Regions from separate parts of the Homo sapiens genome. Here regions 2, 3 and 4 are each linked to region 1. The links are contacts of gene promoters, found by promoter capture Hi-C in blood cells and fetal thymus (Javierre and others, 2016). All regions are on one chromosome and are shown on one strand. Each heading gives the region's core, a stretch centred on a gene start or on the middle of the fragment in contact. The rest is flanking DNA. Distances are from core to core; before and after follow the strand shown.

Region 1 (4,174 bases), core at 819-3,318:
ATACTCCTGCCTCAGGGCCTTTACATTTGCTATGCTTTCTGCCTGGGAAGTTGTCTGCTCAGATATCCCTAACCTCCCTCAAGTCGTTCCTCAAATGTTACCTCCTCCAGAAGCTTTCCTTGATCATCACCCCTCTCCGAACATAGCACCCCTCATACTTTCTATGTACCCTCTCTGCTTAATTTTTATCCACAGCATTTCTTTCTTTCTTTCAAAACAGGGTCTCACTCTGTCACCCAGGCTGGAATGCAGTGGGCTCAAGTGATCCTCCCACCTCAGCCTCCTGGATAGCTAGGACTACAGGTGCACGCCACCATGCCTGGCTAATTTTTAAACTTTTTGTAGATAGGGGGTCTTACTATGTTGCCCAGGTTGGGTCTCCAACTTCTGGCCTCAAGTGATCCTCCTCCTTTGGCCTCCCAAACTGCGGGATTACAGGCATGAGACAGCACTCCTAGCCTCTCCATAGCATTTCTAATCATACAGCAGTCCATATATTGTCCTTATACATTTACCATCTGTCTTTCCCACGTGGAAGAGGTAAGCTCCACGAGGGCTGGAATTGTTGTTTGTGCTCTCTGCTGTGTCCTCAACCCCTAGAAGCGTGCCTAGCATGCAAAAGGCACTCAGTATATATTTGTTGAGTAAATGAATGCTTCCCCCACCTTCCAACTGTTAGAGCAGGCCAAGGGGACCTGTTGTGCAGAACTTCACAGCTTTCTACTCTGAGCTCTATCTTCCTTGTTCTTCCCCAGCTTTTACTTAGGAGCCACTTCTTGACTGAGCTTGTCACAGGTGAAAGGCTGATGAATCTGGAGAGATACTTGTGGCAAGTACCCGGTGTTCCTGCAGTCATCCACAAGCGCAGCAGTGGTGGTAGACAGCTAGAGAAGAAAGTGTAAAGTTTGCATCCTCCAATTATCACGGTTGCAAGACAGAACTTGAAACTAGATACACCTGATTTTGGTTATCTCTGGATGCCATTCACCGAGAATGAAGGGAAGAAGATACTTCCTCCAAAGGAGAATCTGATGAGGCGCCAGCAGGCTGCTGCTGCGGTGGAAACTGCCACATCCGCTTTTGCAAACTGGTGTGGCCCCAGCTGCTTGGACTGAGGCTCAACGCAGGTTTCAGCCACTTCAACCACAGGGCTACGAACATGCCAAGAGAGCCACTAACCAAGTTTCTCATTCCTCCTCTGAGATTTAAAGTCCATCACTTCGCGACTCAAACACGCAAGAGGCGTGGGAGACGGAGGAATGGGGAAGCGAGGCGGCGCTGCCCACCTTGGCAATGGCACAGCCGCGGTCTCTGATGCAAAGGCAGGCGGCCGCGCAGGGCCGGGCCTGGGTGGGAAGGCTGGGCTCTGGGAAGGATGTCGGGGCACCCGGCAGTGCCCAAAGCCACCATCTCAAGCGTGATAGTGGGAAAATGGATGCTGCACCTGCTCTCTCATCTTGCGGGGAATCGTGATTTGGGGAAGTTTCACCTTTGTTGCAGAACTGCCCACATTAGAGCCTTCATTTCTTGGGAAGGGGTTGGCGGGAGTTGCCAGTGAAATGTGTGACACACACACGCGCCACATACTCCCCAAACCCACAGACGACTCCAGTAACGCTCTAGTTACCCTTAAAAAGTAAAACAGAACAAATCAGCAGGCCCCCTCCCTCCATCCTGGCACTTCATTAATGTCGGCCAAGGCCACATTTCCCCTGCCCACTGCAGGGAGTCTGTCAGGAGAACAACAGGCGAACGTTTGCCTCACTTGACTCAGCTCTCTTGGGGCGGTATCAGCATTTTAAAATTCACACCTAAAGGAAGGAGTCAGCAAAGGAAAGCAGAGCTGGGCCGGGGCGCCGGTGGCCGCCGTCAAACCTTTGGGAAGCAAGAAATCCGAAACGCCCGTGACGTGCGGCGTTGTCCGACTCCTTCCACTAGGCAGAACCCGAGAGACGAGCCTTTGGCGGGACGGTGAACGATTGTGCTGTGTACGGCGGTGTGCGTGCGTGAGTAAAGAGTGTGTAGCTCCGGCCAAACGCTAGCCCCCAAGGGCGCGAGTGCTACACTGCGCCCAGCTCAAGTTTCTGTGGAAACTTTCCCTCAGAGGCTCCTCCTCCTTCACCTTGGAAACCGGCGCGGGCCGTGCGGCGCGGCACTGCCTAAGTCCCCGGCGCACCTGGCGGCGGCGTGTCCCAGCGGCAGAGGCGGGGCCGGCGGCGGCGGGGGCGGGGCCGGGGCGCGCTCCCCGAGGCCTCCAGGCAGGTTGGGCCCCACCCCCGCCCCTGCCCCGCCCCGGCCCCCGCCCCCGCCCCCGCCCCCCCCGCGCTCACTAGGGAGAGGCTGGGGGGAGGCAGTGACCCACGCGCCTCAGCCCGCGGCTGACGCACCTTCGAAAAGTTGCGCTCCGACCTTCTCACGACCTACATTCTTCCCGGGCACTCCTGAGTTTGAGCCGGGCCTGGAGGACCTGGGCCAAGACTTTCGAGCGGCGGCCGCCCGAGGTGCGAGGAGCCAGCCCGGCTTTCCTCACTGGGTCCCGCGCAGGCGTCCCCGGGACCGCAGAGCAAACTTTCTGGACTATCTGAGGACACTTGTCCAGCGAGCCCCACTGCTCGGGGAGGAGGAGCCACGGCCGGGGACAGGTAGGTGCTGTGCTGGCCGGAGATTTGCGCTTGAGGGATTCTTTTATTTTAGAGGGTTGAAGGAGGAGGGAGAGTCGAAATGTCCCTTCTCTGCATCCGCCAACTGGGCAGGGGGTGCGGGCATTGGGCTGAGGGAGCAGGCATTGGGCTGGGGGCCGGCTGGGGATGTTCCAAACGAGGTCGCTGCGTCGGGCGGGGGCGCAGGGGGGAGGAGGTGACTTCTAGGGTTTCGGGCTCCGGGACGGGGCGTAACGCGGTGACTGACCCTGGGAGAGAGAGAGCCAGCTTGTTTTGACGAAGGAATATGTCATTAGGGCCCTCCATCCCATTCCTTGGTCCCAGGGTCCTCTGGGAGGCACAGGAAAAGGCAAAGAGATGTGGAGTTCAGGTTTCCCCTGTAAATCAACTTGCTTACACAGGAGACAGAGGCGGTGCCCCTCTGAGGTTTGCAGCCCTTTCCTGGTGTAAGGACTTACTGGTTAGGTAGCTGTTGCTCAATTTCGTAAATTCTGTGATGAAACTGCGTTCAAGTCGTGGTTATTATTGATAGTGTGTATGTGTTTGTGTTTCCTCTGGCTCAACAAAGGTCCCTTGTTAACTCCGCTTCTGCTAGGGAGTGGGAAGAACTACCTTGGTGTCTTATTTCAGGCCTGGTCAGAGCGAGGTGTTGGTGCAGGCGGCGGTAGCCTTGTTGGCTTGGGACTTTGGGAATCACATGAGCAGGTCTAGTGAATTAGTGTCCCAGCCTCCTGGACCCACCCATTCACAGCAGATCTAGCTTCCACTATTCAGCAGATGCTGCAGCCCCAGCTATCCAGGGACAGGGAAACCCCCCTGAAGGGAAAGAGCCAAATGTTGAGAAGGAGAGACAGCTTTCAGGAGGAGGAGTAAACAATGCCTAACAATTGTTGCTTCCCTATAGATTGGGCTTGCTCCCTTGGCTTCTCTGGAAGGGCTGTGCTATCAAATTCATCTCATTAGGAAGTCAGCTGCTCCCTGCTAATAGTCATAGCAGCCCTGATGAAATTATATAGGTCATTGAAAAATAATTCCTGCTTAATTACCTTTATCCTGTTGATTAATGAGAGGGAAGATTTCCTCTCCTTAATGTATTATGCCTGCTTGTCAGGGTCACCTGCCTGACCTCAAGTTCACTTGTACACCTGGCACTAGGCAGGATGCTGTCCCCGAAGCTGTCCACATGTAGTGAACCACAGCTGAAGTCCACGTTTGGAGAACTTCAAAGGTCTTCTTTGGACCGAAATTGAGCAGGATATTTAGTCCATAAATTTACTCTTTAATACAGTATACTTGTTGGCTTTAGGTAACTTTTCGCATAATTAAAGGTTGATATCTTTTTAGTTCCAGTTAATCCCTTTCCGCAGAGCTCATAAGAATTATGTCCATGCCTGTCTTGAAATAAATTAAGTTTGGGGTCCTATTTATCATTTGTCCTGTAGGACAAGGAACAGGATTAAACTGTGTAGGGTGGCTGGAAAGGGGCAGAGAAACTGGACATCACTGAAGTGGAT
Region 2 (4,174 bases), core at 1,079-3,578, 1.0 Mb after region 1:
TCCACCTCAGCTCACCACGCATTAGACTCTCGGAAGGAGCATACAACCTAGATCTCTCGCAAGCACAGTTCACAATAGGGTTCGTGCTCCTATTAGAATCTAATGCCACAGCTGATCTGACAGGAGGCGGAGCACAGGCGGTAATGCTCACTCACCTACCGCCCGCCTCCTGCTGTGAGGCCCAGTTCCTAACAGGCCACAGACTGGTCCATGGCCTGGGGGTTGGGGACACCCATTTTCAAAAACAGACTCTGAAATTGCTCGGAGAACGGTTTTTATATGAAAAATATTCATGTTTAGAGAGAGCCAAAAGTGCTATCAAGGCTAAAGAACTCTTCAAAGAAAACAATAAATATCTTCAAAACAAGAACGGATACTACTATGCTATTACTCTTCTAATAACGTGTTAAGTTGATCTTAGAAAATTGCCAGGGTAACACCTGAGCCCTAGAGATGTGAAGAATCAGTTACACTAGGACTTAAAGAGTTCTGTGCTCTTTCCACTATGAAATGGGGGGTTGGGAATAGGGGAAGGTTTCCACTATATTCAGCTGCATTCTCATGCAGAGATCATGATATAATGACATTTCCTGTGAGGAACATCTTTTTATCCAATCCTCCATTAGGAGCATTATACACCATGTAAAGTCATCAAAAAAGACCACATAGAATAATAATTGGTTTCCAGCAGAGAGTTATTTTTCAAATAAAGAGGCATATATGCTTGTTATAACAAAATGGAGAAATTATAAAATGTATTTAAGAAAAAATAACCTTTTATTCAACCACATTCAGAGATAATTCCTAACATTTGGTACAACTTCTTCTGATCTTTTTCTTTGCATATGTATATATGTAGATACATACACACACACATATATAAAAATGTATGTTTGCTTCATAATTAAGATCACACTGTATAGAGTTTTGAATCCTATATTTTAAATAAAATATTTTTAAGCATTTCCTGTTATTAAATATTCTTTCAAATGTGATGTTTAATGGCTGTATGAATTGCCTTCAACTGATTTCTGCATGTTAGCAAAATGATTCCTAAAGTGGGATTTTTAACTTCTCCTCAGGGCAGTCTCAATTTAACGATCTGTACATATACTGAATACCTGAGTCTTAAACTCAATTTTAATGACGTGCCCATTTACAATTTCTAGTCTAGCTTAGGTACATCTTAAGAGGTGAAATGAGGCTGGGGCATGGTGGCTCATACCTGTAATCCCAGCACTTTGGGAGGCCCAGGCAGGAAGATCACCAGAGCTCAGGAGTTTGAGACCAGGGTGGGCAACATAGTAAGACCTTGTCTTTACAGATAATTCAAAAATTAGCCAAGCGTGGTGGTGCCACGAGTGGTCCCAGTTACTCGGGAGGCTGAGGTGGGAGAATTGCTTAAGCCTGGGAGGTGGAGGCTGCAGTGAGCCATGATTATGCCACTGCACTCCATCCAGCCTGGGCAACAAAGCAAGACCTTGTCTTAAAAAAAAAAAAAAAAAAAAAAAGAGGTGAAATGACAACTGTTCACATTACAGTTTGCCAGTCTTCAATTCTCAAACTGAATTAGGACTGAAAACAAATTTACCAAATTTCTACTGCTCAAAAAAGTGAAGAATTATATGTCAACTTAAGACAAAGCTTACCAAAAATGTCACCAGGTAATACCAAATGAACTGCACCATGAAGAGAAGCAAGAACAGGTTGAAAGGAATTCGATTTTCTAAATCTAGGAAGGTATTAAGATAGGGGATTTGGACTTCGATTTGAAGGATATGGCTGGTGGGAAGGAGTATGATTCAAAACAAGTAGAGAGGAGAGGAGATGAAACCAGGTAAAAACTATGGTAAGATATTGGAAGACTTCAAACATTCTCATTTAGGTTTGGCTTTATCAGTGGGAAATGGGGCACCAGATATCTGTATTGAGGTTATTATCTATACAGAGCTAAAAATTCATTTTAAAAAACTCATCCAATTATTCATACTGCCAACTCATTGTCAAGGACGTGGCGTTATAGCCTGATGCAAACAGAAGCCCAAGCAAAAATGCTCTTAACGTTTTTAAACACTGACCCTCCAATTTTTATCTTACAATTGCCTGGCGGGTAAGAAAAAGAGAGACTAAGTGATCAAGTCTGTTAAATTATTCAGCAGGCCCAGACTCAGATGATAAGAAAAAGTCAAGCCACTTTTCTATCCACTGACCAGAAGATGGGACCTATTGAGAGGGAAAAGATAACCTGGGGAGGCAAATAAAAACTTGGTTTGGAGAAAGAAACAGTACTTTTAGTTTTCAGTGGACCACTCAGATGATGATGCCCAACAGACAGCTAGAAATGCAAAACTATGGCTAAGGTGAATGATCGGAGCTTGAGAAATAATTTTGGAGTTAACTACCAAAGTGAAAACAATATTCATCATGATCTATTCCTATGTCCTTTTTCTTCATACTGTCTTCCCTACCACCAACAAAAACAACATTAAAAATGGATCAGATCATTATAATACACATATGAAACAATTTTCTTTGGAAGCATTTTGAAGATAACTATTTGTGATATTTGTGTATACTTCAGTGAAGTTTATCATCTGTATAAAGAACTAATCAATGGAATGCTATAAAACAATTTTAAAATGGTCCATTTGGTGTGAAGATTATTCTTTAGTCTACAATGAAACCTCATAATTAAAATACTTTTTGAGCTGGGCACGGTGGTCCACGCCTGTAGTCCCAGCTACACAGGAGGATCTCTTATGCCCAGGGGTTCAAGGACAGCCTGGGAAACACAGCAAGGCCCCGTCTCTTAAATAATTAATAATAGTAACTGTCATTACCTGCAGTGAATGAGATACAGTTTATCACCAACATTTAGAGCTATTATTGTTTAAAATAATATTAACAAATACATTTAAAACTATATTAACAGGCATTAATTAGAAATTAACCATGAGCTAAAATTCATTTTGGCATCCATATGGAAGATTCATTAAAGCATTTAAATATACAGAAGCTTTAGTTAAAGATTAGAAGAAAGTCTAGAGAAATTGACTTAAATTCTAATGAAAGGAAAGGGTACATATTTTATCAACTAGGGAGATCTGTGGGTAGCATCGACTTCAAAATTTATGTCTATTTTTATTGAAGATGGGCCTAGCTTATTACAGTACTCTTCTAATCCTCCTATGTACCTTTTTAAAAGAATTTATTTCTCTACTTTTTACACTAGAGGGTGATATGATGACTGAATGCTGAAGGTTGTAAAACATATATATAGAGATTGACAACCGCTGCGGGGAATGAAGTTTATTTTGTGGGATTTGGGGTAAGGCACAGGAGACGGAAAAAATGAGGTCACAAGGCCGATATCTGCAAAATATCTGAGTGTCCCAGGCACTATGCTACTTGTTTTACATAAATTATTTCACTTAATCCTTACAAAAACCTTGAGAGGTAGGCATGAGTCTTTATTTTACAGATAAAGTAATAGGTTCACTGAGATTATATACTCATGGTTATACAGTAAGTGGTATAATCAGAATTCAAACTCAGATGTGAAAAGTTCTTATCACTCTAATATGTTAGGGGAAAACCCATCTCACCCATTGTCCCCATTTCTCCCATTTCCATTATCCTCCCCACATGTTTAAAATTGGGCTAAATTAGGCTGAGTCAATGTTTCATTTTTCCTCCTTCACAAAGGTAGGGGACATGGCTATTCATTGGGCCATGTTTACTAGTGGATGTTATTCAAGATGACTGCCTTAAATAGCATTTTTTGCTCTCTGGACATGTATATACCAAACAGACTTTGAACTTAAGTTGCTTGTCTTGCAGGTAGACTAGGCCAGGGACTTTCTGAAGAAGCTATCATTCTCTAGAACTCTACAACAGAGTGTAACTTAGAGCCCTGTTATATTTCCAATGTTAGCCACATTATCCTACAAAGCTGCTCAGCAGCTCTGGTCCTAGGAGGTGGTTGGAGAATGGCGGACCAGATACCCTGATTGGTTAATGATCCTATTACCTGATTCCTCTATTGTTCAGAATTTATAGACAAGAAAGGGTCTTACGCCTCTAAACTCCAATACACTAGATGCTTCTCCACACCTCCCCCCACCCTCTATTTATTTATTCTGAAACAGGGTCTTGCTCTGTGGCCCAGATCACT
Region 3 (4,174 bases), core at 1,221-3,720, 980 kb after region 1:
TAAAGAAAAGGTCTTTATATAAGGTAACTTATTTTGCCCACTTATCACTCCCTGATTTTCTTTCTTCTAAAAATTTGCATCCGTAAAAACAATTATATATAAATGTGACATGTAATAAAATATCACCAATACGGTATCTGTAAAATGCATTACAAGTCCAAGCACTCCAATTCTCTTGTAACAACAATAAAAATACCATCACAGCAATTTACTCTGGATTTCCATCTTTTCTTTCATTCAGTATTATACAAAAGGCTAGAAATTTAACTGCTCCTGACCAAAGCCACAGCATATGAGCAGCACAAAGATTTTCCATTTTTCATAAATTATTCCTGAATCAGCTAAAACAAATCACTCAGAAGATGTAAATCTCCCTGCAAATTCAAATTGACTTTATACCAAGAGTTTTCAAAGTCTTACCTCAAAAACTTTCACAGGAATAATATCAACGTATGTTATTTGAATTCAGTATTATTCACTGCTTCTGTGAATTCAGGCAACAAGTGACTTACTCTGTTGTAGAAACAGAAAGTCCCACATGCTAAAAAGTATACCATTACTGAAGTGCAATAAATCAGAATCAAAATCCTTCTGATCAGATAATATGGTATTATCAAGCATACTCACTTATTTCACAGATACAGAGTAAAGCAGATTATTTTATCTACCAAATCAGTTTTTAGTCTTCCTAACATCATAGATATCAGAGTATTAAAGTATTTCCCTACCAAGCAATTCACAAATGAACGCAATTCATGGTTGAAGACGGAACAATTTAAACACAGAGGAAAACAATCATAAATCAATAAATTAAACCCTCTGCTTAATGATAAATTATCAAGCTTGTATTAGCAAAAACTGTAAAAAAAAAAAAAAAAACATCCAGCAAGCAACATATTACTTTAAATGCAGAAACATAAATACAATTAGATTGGGCATCAAAGAAAAAAAACATGGCATACCTTTTTTTTTTTTTTTTTTGAGACTGAGTCTTGCTCTGTTGCCTAGGCTGGAGTGCAGTGGTGTAATGTCGGCTCACTGCAACCTCCGCCTCCCAGGTTCAAGCAATTCTCCTGCCTCAGTCTCCTGAGCAGCTGGGATTACAGGTGCCCACCACCACGCCCAGCTAATTTTTGTTATTTTTAGTAGAGACAGGGTTTTACTATGTTGGCCAGGCTGGTCTCGAACTCCTGACCTTGTGATCCGCCCACCTCGGCCTCCCAAAGTGCTGGGATTACAGGCGTGAGCCACAGCGCCTGGTCAGGATATCTTTTAAAGTTTTAGTATTTTTTTTTTAAGCTTTAGTATTCACAAAAGGTATGTCAAATAAATTAAAATGTTTTTATAAGATTAAAATCACATTTAAAATGATTACTAAAAATGTTCTAAAAGATATTTATTTACATGCTCAAAGTGCTCACTCAGATTACAACTTCCAATTATAATGTATTTGAGACATTACATGTATGTAAACATTCAATGGACAACATACTGCACTTCCCTGCTAATTTTCTTCATTTGGGCAACAAGGGCGGCCCCTAACTAAGAGAAATATGCTTGGGTTCTGAAGCAGCACATACAACATACACAAGTGTTATAAAAATGTGACCTGATAATTGGACATTTGCAAAATAAAAGCATTGCATGTACATGCCTATATGCACAGATAGGTAGCATTCTCAAAATAAAAATGCCAGAATACTAGATTATATAAGGTATTGTAACTGCTCTGATTTATGGAATCAACATCTCAATGTTAGACATTTAAGCTGTTTTATATTCCAGTTATTTCCAAAAATTTTGCTGAAAATACATTATAAATTAAAAAGTAAAACACAGAAAACCAACCAAAACAAGTGCTAATAAATTATAAGTTGACAGATGACAAAACCATCCCATGGTACACCAGAAACTCCAAGATTCAGGAACCTTAACTATTTAATGTCTTGCAGTACAATTACCTGGAGTTTATACTTCAGATTTCTACAAAGAGGAGGCTAAATATTTAATAGATATAGACTATCTGACTTCTCTTCAGATGATTGAGATTAAGTCCCTTGCAGGTTTAAGAGTACATTACATCTCTAAATCAACAGAATGAAAAGACAACCTACAGAATGGGAGAAAATATTTGCAAACTATGCTTCTAACAGGGGGCTGATATGCAGAATTGACAGGCAACTCAACAACAAAAACCAAATTAACTTCATTAAAAAGTGGGAAAAGAACATGAATAAATACTTCTCAAAAGAAGACATACATATTTTTTCATGCCTACAAGCATGAAAAAATGTTCAACATCATTATCAAAGAAATGCAAAGTAAAACCACAATGAGATCTCATCTCACACCATTCAGAATGGCTATTATTAAAAAGACAAAAAATAATAGATGTTGGCGAGGATGTGGAGAAAAAGAAATGCTTATACGGTGTTGGTGGGAATGCAAATTAGTACAATCTCTATGGAAAACATTATGGAGATTTCTCAGAGAACTAATAATAGAACTATCATTTGATCCAGCAATCCCACTACTGGGCATCTACCCAAAAGAAAAGAAATCATTATTTTAAAGATGCCCAAGAATTTAGTTGGTGATTATAATAGTTATAACTTTAAGTCAACTATGATAACTAACCCACATATATATATGTTTACACACACACACAAATGGAATACTATTCAGCTATAAAAAAGAATGAAATGTCTTTTGCAGCAACATGGATGGAATTGGAGGTGATTCTTCAGTGAAACAACACAGAAACAGAAAGTCAAATACCACGTTTCACTTACAAGTGAAAGCTAAGTAAAGTGTACACATGAACATGGAGTGTGTAGTAATAGATATTAAGAGACTCAGAAGGGTGACATGCAGGGAGGATGCTGAGAGATGAGAAATCACTTAACGGGTACAATGTATACTATTTGGGTGACAGGTACACTAAAGGCCCAAATTTCACCACTATGTAATATATCCATGTAAAAAAAACTAGAGTACCCCTTAAATTTATACCAAAAAAAAGCATATTACAGCTCTAATAATATTACATATATGGCCTTCTTGTAAGAAGGTTCAATTTGGTGAGCTTTCCTTTATTATAGTTTAGTGAACAATATAGCTAGTTTATAAAATATATCCAAATAAAATGCATTGTTTCAATTCTTTTGTGTCTGCCTTCTTTTACAAAAGGCATGTATGCCTGTGCTCTAAATGTTTTTGTATAGTAATAAGAAAACATTTTTATTGGAAAGAAGCTACAGGCATAATGATTTTTAAAAAAATTTTTAAAAGATGAAATTCAAGAAAAATAACCTCAGGATTTTTCTGATTCCATATTATACTATAATAATATGTGTGTGTGTTTATATATTTTTTTCCTCTCCTACCTACTGTAGTGGTCTAAACACTAGCATATAGAGTATATTTGACTTTTTTTTTTTAATGAGTAAACTTTGGATTTTATTTCTATTATTTGTGCCTAAGAACTTTAGTTGTTAAAATACTTTTCCTCATCCTTTCATTAAGCATTTTAAAAAGTACTTAAGATAAAACAAAAATCCAACTATCCCACTGAATTTTCTAAGTATTTCAGAAATGCCCAGTATGAAGTCTTCAATGACTTAACATAACCTGTCTCATGATTAAGCTTAACTCTTACAGGCTGAGCTGGGTTACCCCAGCTGTTAAAATGGCCTTACACAGCTGCTCACCAAGAATTTAGTTCGTGATTATTATAGTTACACCTTTAAGTCAACTATGACAAAAATGACACAGTAATTACAGGTATTTCAGTCATGCAAAAAGCCTCATGTAATGACAGAGTAAGTGATTTAAAGTAACCTAATTTTCCATAATTCTCAAAATAAAATTTAAGTCTAAGAAAGACAATAACTTCTTTAATGTCAGTACTTAAGTCCATAAACAGTTTAAACATAACAGTTTAAACTTTCAGTTAAAATAAATTAAACATTACTTACCAATAATATCTTTCTCTTATAAAAATTCTTAAGAGTATTGCAGGCCAGGGAGTCATAATACTAATTATACTAATAATTAGGACTAAGGAAATAATACTAATATTCTTTTAAAATACAGTAAGTAATTGTGTGTTTTTTTGCTACACAGCTTTAAAAAATTAAGCTATAATGCAGAAGGCTCAACCAAATTGACAGTT
Region 4 (4,174 bases), core at 926-3,425, 960 kb after region 1:
AAAGAGACGTGCTGCATCAGCAGGTACTTGTGAAAGGAAATAACTGAATTGAAACTGCTAACATTTAGAATGTCATCAACTTTACCAAAAATGCTGGGCCTTTCCACTATTATTTCTATAGTAAAATTAATATCATCTTTAAAAATCTTAAATTATATCTACTGTTATTTATACCAAAATATAACACAAATATATCTACCATAAATTTTATCTACCATTATATAACTAATTTATATGTGAGATACATGCTAGTTTCTGCAACCTTCCATAGTGGCATGGAAAAAGACAAGAAGTCTAATTCTGATCCAGGAATAATTCAGAAAGAAATCACTAAGCTGTGCCTGATAGAATTATTAAAAACACCAAAAGAAAGTTGTTTCACAAAAATATTTAAAAAGGGAGTTAAATGGAATCCTATTTATCATTTCAGAGCATCAAAATAATATTTTGCTTGTAATAGATACTATCTAACAGTATTTGAAAACCGGCAGATTATACATTTCAATAAGGCCACTAACTTAATTCTATCAAATCAGGTAAATTGTATGTACATGTATGTAGTTATGTATACATATGAAAAAACTATAATACAAATTATCACCAAATGATTTAGAAATGAAAAGTGTATAATTTAATAAAGGAGTCTGATGACACACTGTATGTTGGCACAAACTGCCTCTTGCCTTGGAGGACTTCTCAGGACCGCTAAAATGTTGAAAGGACTTTTTTTCCTGTTTTGTTCACTAATGTATCCCAAGTGCCTAGAACTGGGCCTGGCTATTAGCAGATGCTTATTTGTTGAATAAATTAATTAAGCCATGTTCATCTAATTTTGATATGTGACCATGAAATGTGGATGATGAGACAAGTCTCTCAGAGACATGAAGGCATTTGTGGATTCCTTAAGGGAAAGGTGTGCTGTCTTATTCATCTTTGTAACAGTAGCAACACACACAGAGAGTATGCATACTATATATCAGCAGATTAAAATTAATTTTGTGGTGTTAATTTCCCATGGAAATACTGGGACAATTAAAAAAAATGTGGTTGAGGTTCTCTACACTCATTTAAAGAATAAGTCTATTAGCATGAGCTGTATTTTAATCACTGAAGAAAAGTAATATAAAAGCTCCAAACTATCATTGTATTATATGGTTATAATAGCCTATAATTAGGTTAATAAACTTTAGGTACTCATCTATATATGTATGTTTTAAAGTATTTAATATGCATGTACTCAGAGACTTAAGATAAAGCTTAGACTACTCTGACATTTCAAAGTGTGTTCAGTTTTTTATGAGTGGGTGACAGTTGTAAAACTCTAAGGTCTCTGGATTTAGTTCCATGCTCTTGGAGACAGCTGTGTTCCTAAATTCAGAATATTTTGAATTGTAGAAAGGTAACAGAGTGCATATACTATTTATTACAGAGCACTTCCAGTATATCACACATTAGTGTTTCTCCAGCAAAATATATGAATATTCAGATAAATAATAAAGATGACTGTTTTATGTTAGTTTGGGTTAGGTTTTGCTACCTTTATTTTTAAATTTTCAGTTTTCAGAGCATGATGGATTTCTGCTTTGCAGACAAGGGACTGTGGACTTATTTCACACTTGTTTACCTTGCCAGGAGCTTAGTTCCAAGTTTATTTTTAGCATATTTTTCATCTGTCTTCTATATTACAAGCCTCAACATTAAGTTAGTTTCTGTAAAACCTAACTTAGTTTATATTTACAAATTTAAATAGCCTTGCCCTTTGATGTCAAAATTATACAAATTGTTACCTAATTAAAAATTTGTTACATAAAAGACAAAATCATACAAGTTGTTTCCATAGTGTAGTTACAGATTTATAAATCATGTGCTAAGTCGCTTTGTACTCCTATCTGACAACTAGGGCACAACCCAATACTAAAACATCATCTGATGACAAAAACATACAGAAGGCAGTATTATCAGTAATTAGATATTGAGACCATCATAAATTGTTGGGAAAGGTGAGAATTACACATTTAAAATTCCAAGATTATATGGCAAAAGTTAACCCTTAAAACATTTGGACACTAAGGGTCTGTTCAACAAATGCCTACTCCAGATCCGTTTCCTGCAGTGGCTGTGATGCTGGAATAAGACTGCTTGAGTTAGTGTCCTAGCTACATTACTTACTAGCTAAGGGGCAAGAACCTTCCTATGCCTGAGATTCCTCACGTGTAAAACAGGTAAAATACAATACAACGTACTTCACAAGGTGATTTTAAGGATTAAATGAGTTTATGTATAGAAAGTAACTAGAGTAGTGCCTCTTCTACATCCCAAATCATACCTTATTCTATTACCCTATTTTACTGTCATCAAAATATTAACAGTAGTATTTATTTTCTGTCTCCCCAAACTACAATCTAAGCTCCATGAGGGCATGGCCTTTGTCTATCAAGTTCACTGTTATATCTACAGTTTCTAGGAAAGTTCTCTACTCTAGGTGCTCAATACGTATTTTTTCAACATTAATAAATTGACGGCAAGATGTAATTTGCAGCAGTATACTTAATATGAAAAAACATAAGACAAGACACGATCCCAAGCAATGATACAAGTTCCCTCTATCACTCCTCTGATCACCTACTTAGCAAACATCTTCATGTTTTAATTCAGGGTTACTGTGAAGCCCTTCCTGAACCACTCATATTGAGCTCTGAGTGCCTCCTCATACTCTGACAGTACTTTGTACGTAGGTCCATTTAAGCAGTTATTATTTTGTACTATAATGGTTTGTTTGTAGTTTTATCACTGTGACTTTTCATTTGTGCATGGGCATGGGGGATCATCATCTTATTTATAGCCGGTGGCTTGCACAGCACAGAGAATGCAAAGAAAACCGACAATTACATTGCTTACTCATGTTGATGCATGATGTGTGAAACATTCTTAAAGAGAAAAAGACCAAAGGATCTAAAATAGAATGGTCTGATATGTGATAACTGACAGTAATTAATGCCTTTATTGATAAAGTAAGTAGTGACCATAAAAAACACCAAAGGATCTGGAAATGTTTATATTTTCCAAGTACCAATGGAAGATATATGCAAGTAAGAGAAGCTTAGAAAGCCACATTTTAGTTTCCTCACTCAAAAACAAACAAACAAAAACAAAACAAACCAAAAAAACCCCACCACAAAACAGGTACCCTATTAAATTCCCTCTCTAAATTTGCTCATACCACCACCCTATTCTTTCTTCTCTTCAAAGTACTGTATTTTTTTTCTCTATTTCAGCATTTTCTGATATTTAGGAGCTACTCTAGACTCCCAAAAGTACCACCTAAATGACTATACCATGTGTGTTTCTTTTTCATTTTCAAAATTAGTACATAGTAATTACTTTTAAAATTAAGTGTCAAACTGTATCTGAGTTTCGTTAAATTTAGAAAATGAAATATTCAAAATCACAGCTGCACAGTCACTTAAAAACATTTAGTAAACAAAAACAAGCCACATTCTTACAGCACAAAAATTCCTTAAGGATTTTTCCAAGTTTAACAGACACTTCAATGAATCAGCCATAGAAATATTTATACTAACTTTCTCCTGCATATCTCTGGAAGCATAAAAAGGTATTAAAAATAACCTCTGAATTGTAAGAGTTTATAACCTAACCAAGGAGATATCTATACAAAGTTGTCATATAACATCATTGAGCAGCCCATATAGTATGCCTAAGGACCAAAGATAACAGCAATAATTGAGGACAACAGTGGATGAAACCAGTGCCAGAAGGGAGGTTTCAAGAGAGAGGTAAGCTGGACCATGAGGTCATGGAAAGGATGTAGAAAAACAGGCACAAATGTAACCAGTGGATACCAAATAGACTAGTTACAGGAGGGGGGGGGATGATGCTGGCTTTTAAAACGTTTTATATTTCCGTATGTTAAGGAGGTATCAATATATTTTTACTTGGCTAAGAGTTCTATGAAAGTGATGTTGAGTTTCGTGAAATCCCTTTTAGTCATCAAGACATTTTAGAAGAGGAGACTTGCTACAACTACTTTAAATGAGAATTAATCATAGCTAGACTAGAATTTTTTTTTTTAAGGCAAACCAGGATTGGGGCTAAATGACAAAGCTATGACAGAAATGTAATGCTAAGTAACAGTGCTATAGGAAACAGGCAAGTA

The links. Contacts are between HindIII fragments. The CHiCAGO score rates a contact against its expected background, and 5 or more counts as called.
Region 2: a fragment that was not itself captured here is called in contact with the fragment with the promoter of FHIP1A-DT in region 1 in 2 of 17 cell types (fetal thymus and total CD4 T cells); the score reaches 7.2 in fetal thymus.
Region 3: a fragment that was not itself captured here is called in contact with the fragment with the promoter of FHIP1A-DT in region 1 in 5 of 17 cell types (total CD4 T cells, naive CD8 T cells, non-activated CD4 T cells and 2 more); the score reaches 8.3 in total CD4 T cells.
Region 4: a fragment that was not itself captured here is called in contact with the fragment with the promoter of FHIP1A-DT in region 1 in 7 of 17 cell types (non-activated CD4 T cells, total CD4 T cells, naive CD4 T cells and 4 more); the score reaches 9.3 in non-activated CD4 T cells.

The regions. Positions count from the first base shown.
Region 1 is chr4:151,406,824-151,410,997 of GRCh38, forward strand. It overlaps FHIP1A-DT (FHIP1A divergent transcript), which reads right to left and starts at 2,069. Exons shown (of 3, transcript NR_183963.1): 1 at 360-2,069. It overlaps FHIP1A (FHF complex subunit HOOK interacting protein 1A), which reads left to right and starts at 2,353. Exons shown (of 14, transcript NM_001109977.3): 1 at 2,353-2,642. RefSeq lists enhancers at 783-1,092, 924-1,623, 1,624-2,323 and silencers at 1,550-2,022, 2,143-2,312. The HindIII fragment of the contact is 9,357 bases long and covers 112-4,174 here.
Region 2 is chr4:152,403,608-152,407,781 of GRCh38, forward strand. All of the region lies in intron 4 of FBXW7 (F-box and WD repeat domain containing 7), which reads right to left. Among named protein-coding and RNA genes, the nearest start is that of FBXW7-AS1, 68 kb to the left of the region's middle. The HindIII fragment of the contact is 1,372 bases long and covers 1,643-3,014 here.
Region 3 is chr4:152,386,746-152,390,919 of GRCh38, forward strand. All of the region lies in intron 4 of FBXW7 (F-box and WD repeat domain containing 7), which reads right to left. Among named protein-coding and RNA genes, the nearest start is that of FBXW7-AS1, 51 kb to the left of the region's middle. The HindIII fragment of the contact is 2,347 bases long and covers 1,298-3,644 here.
Region 4 is chr4:152,371,008-152,375,181 of GRCh38, forward strand. The region is part of intron 4 of FBXW7 (F-box and WD repeat domain containing 7); the gene reads right to left. Among named protein-coding and RNA genes, the nearest start is that of FBXW7-AS1, 35 kb to the left of the region's middle. The HindIII fragment of the contact is 1,843 bases long and covers 1,255-3,097 here.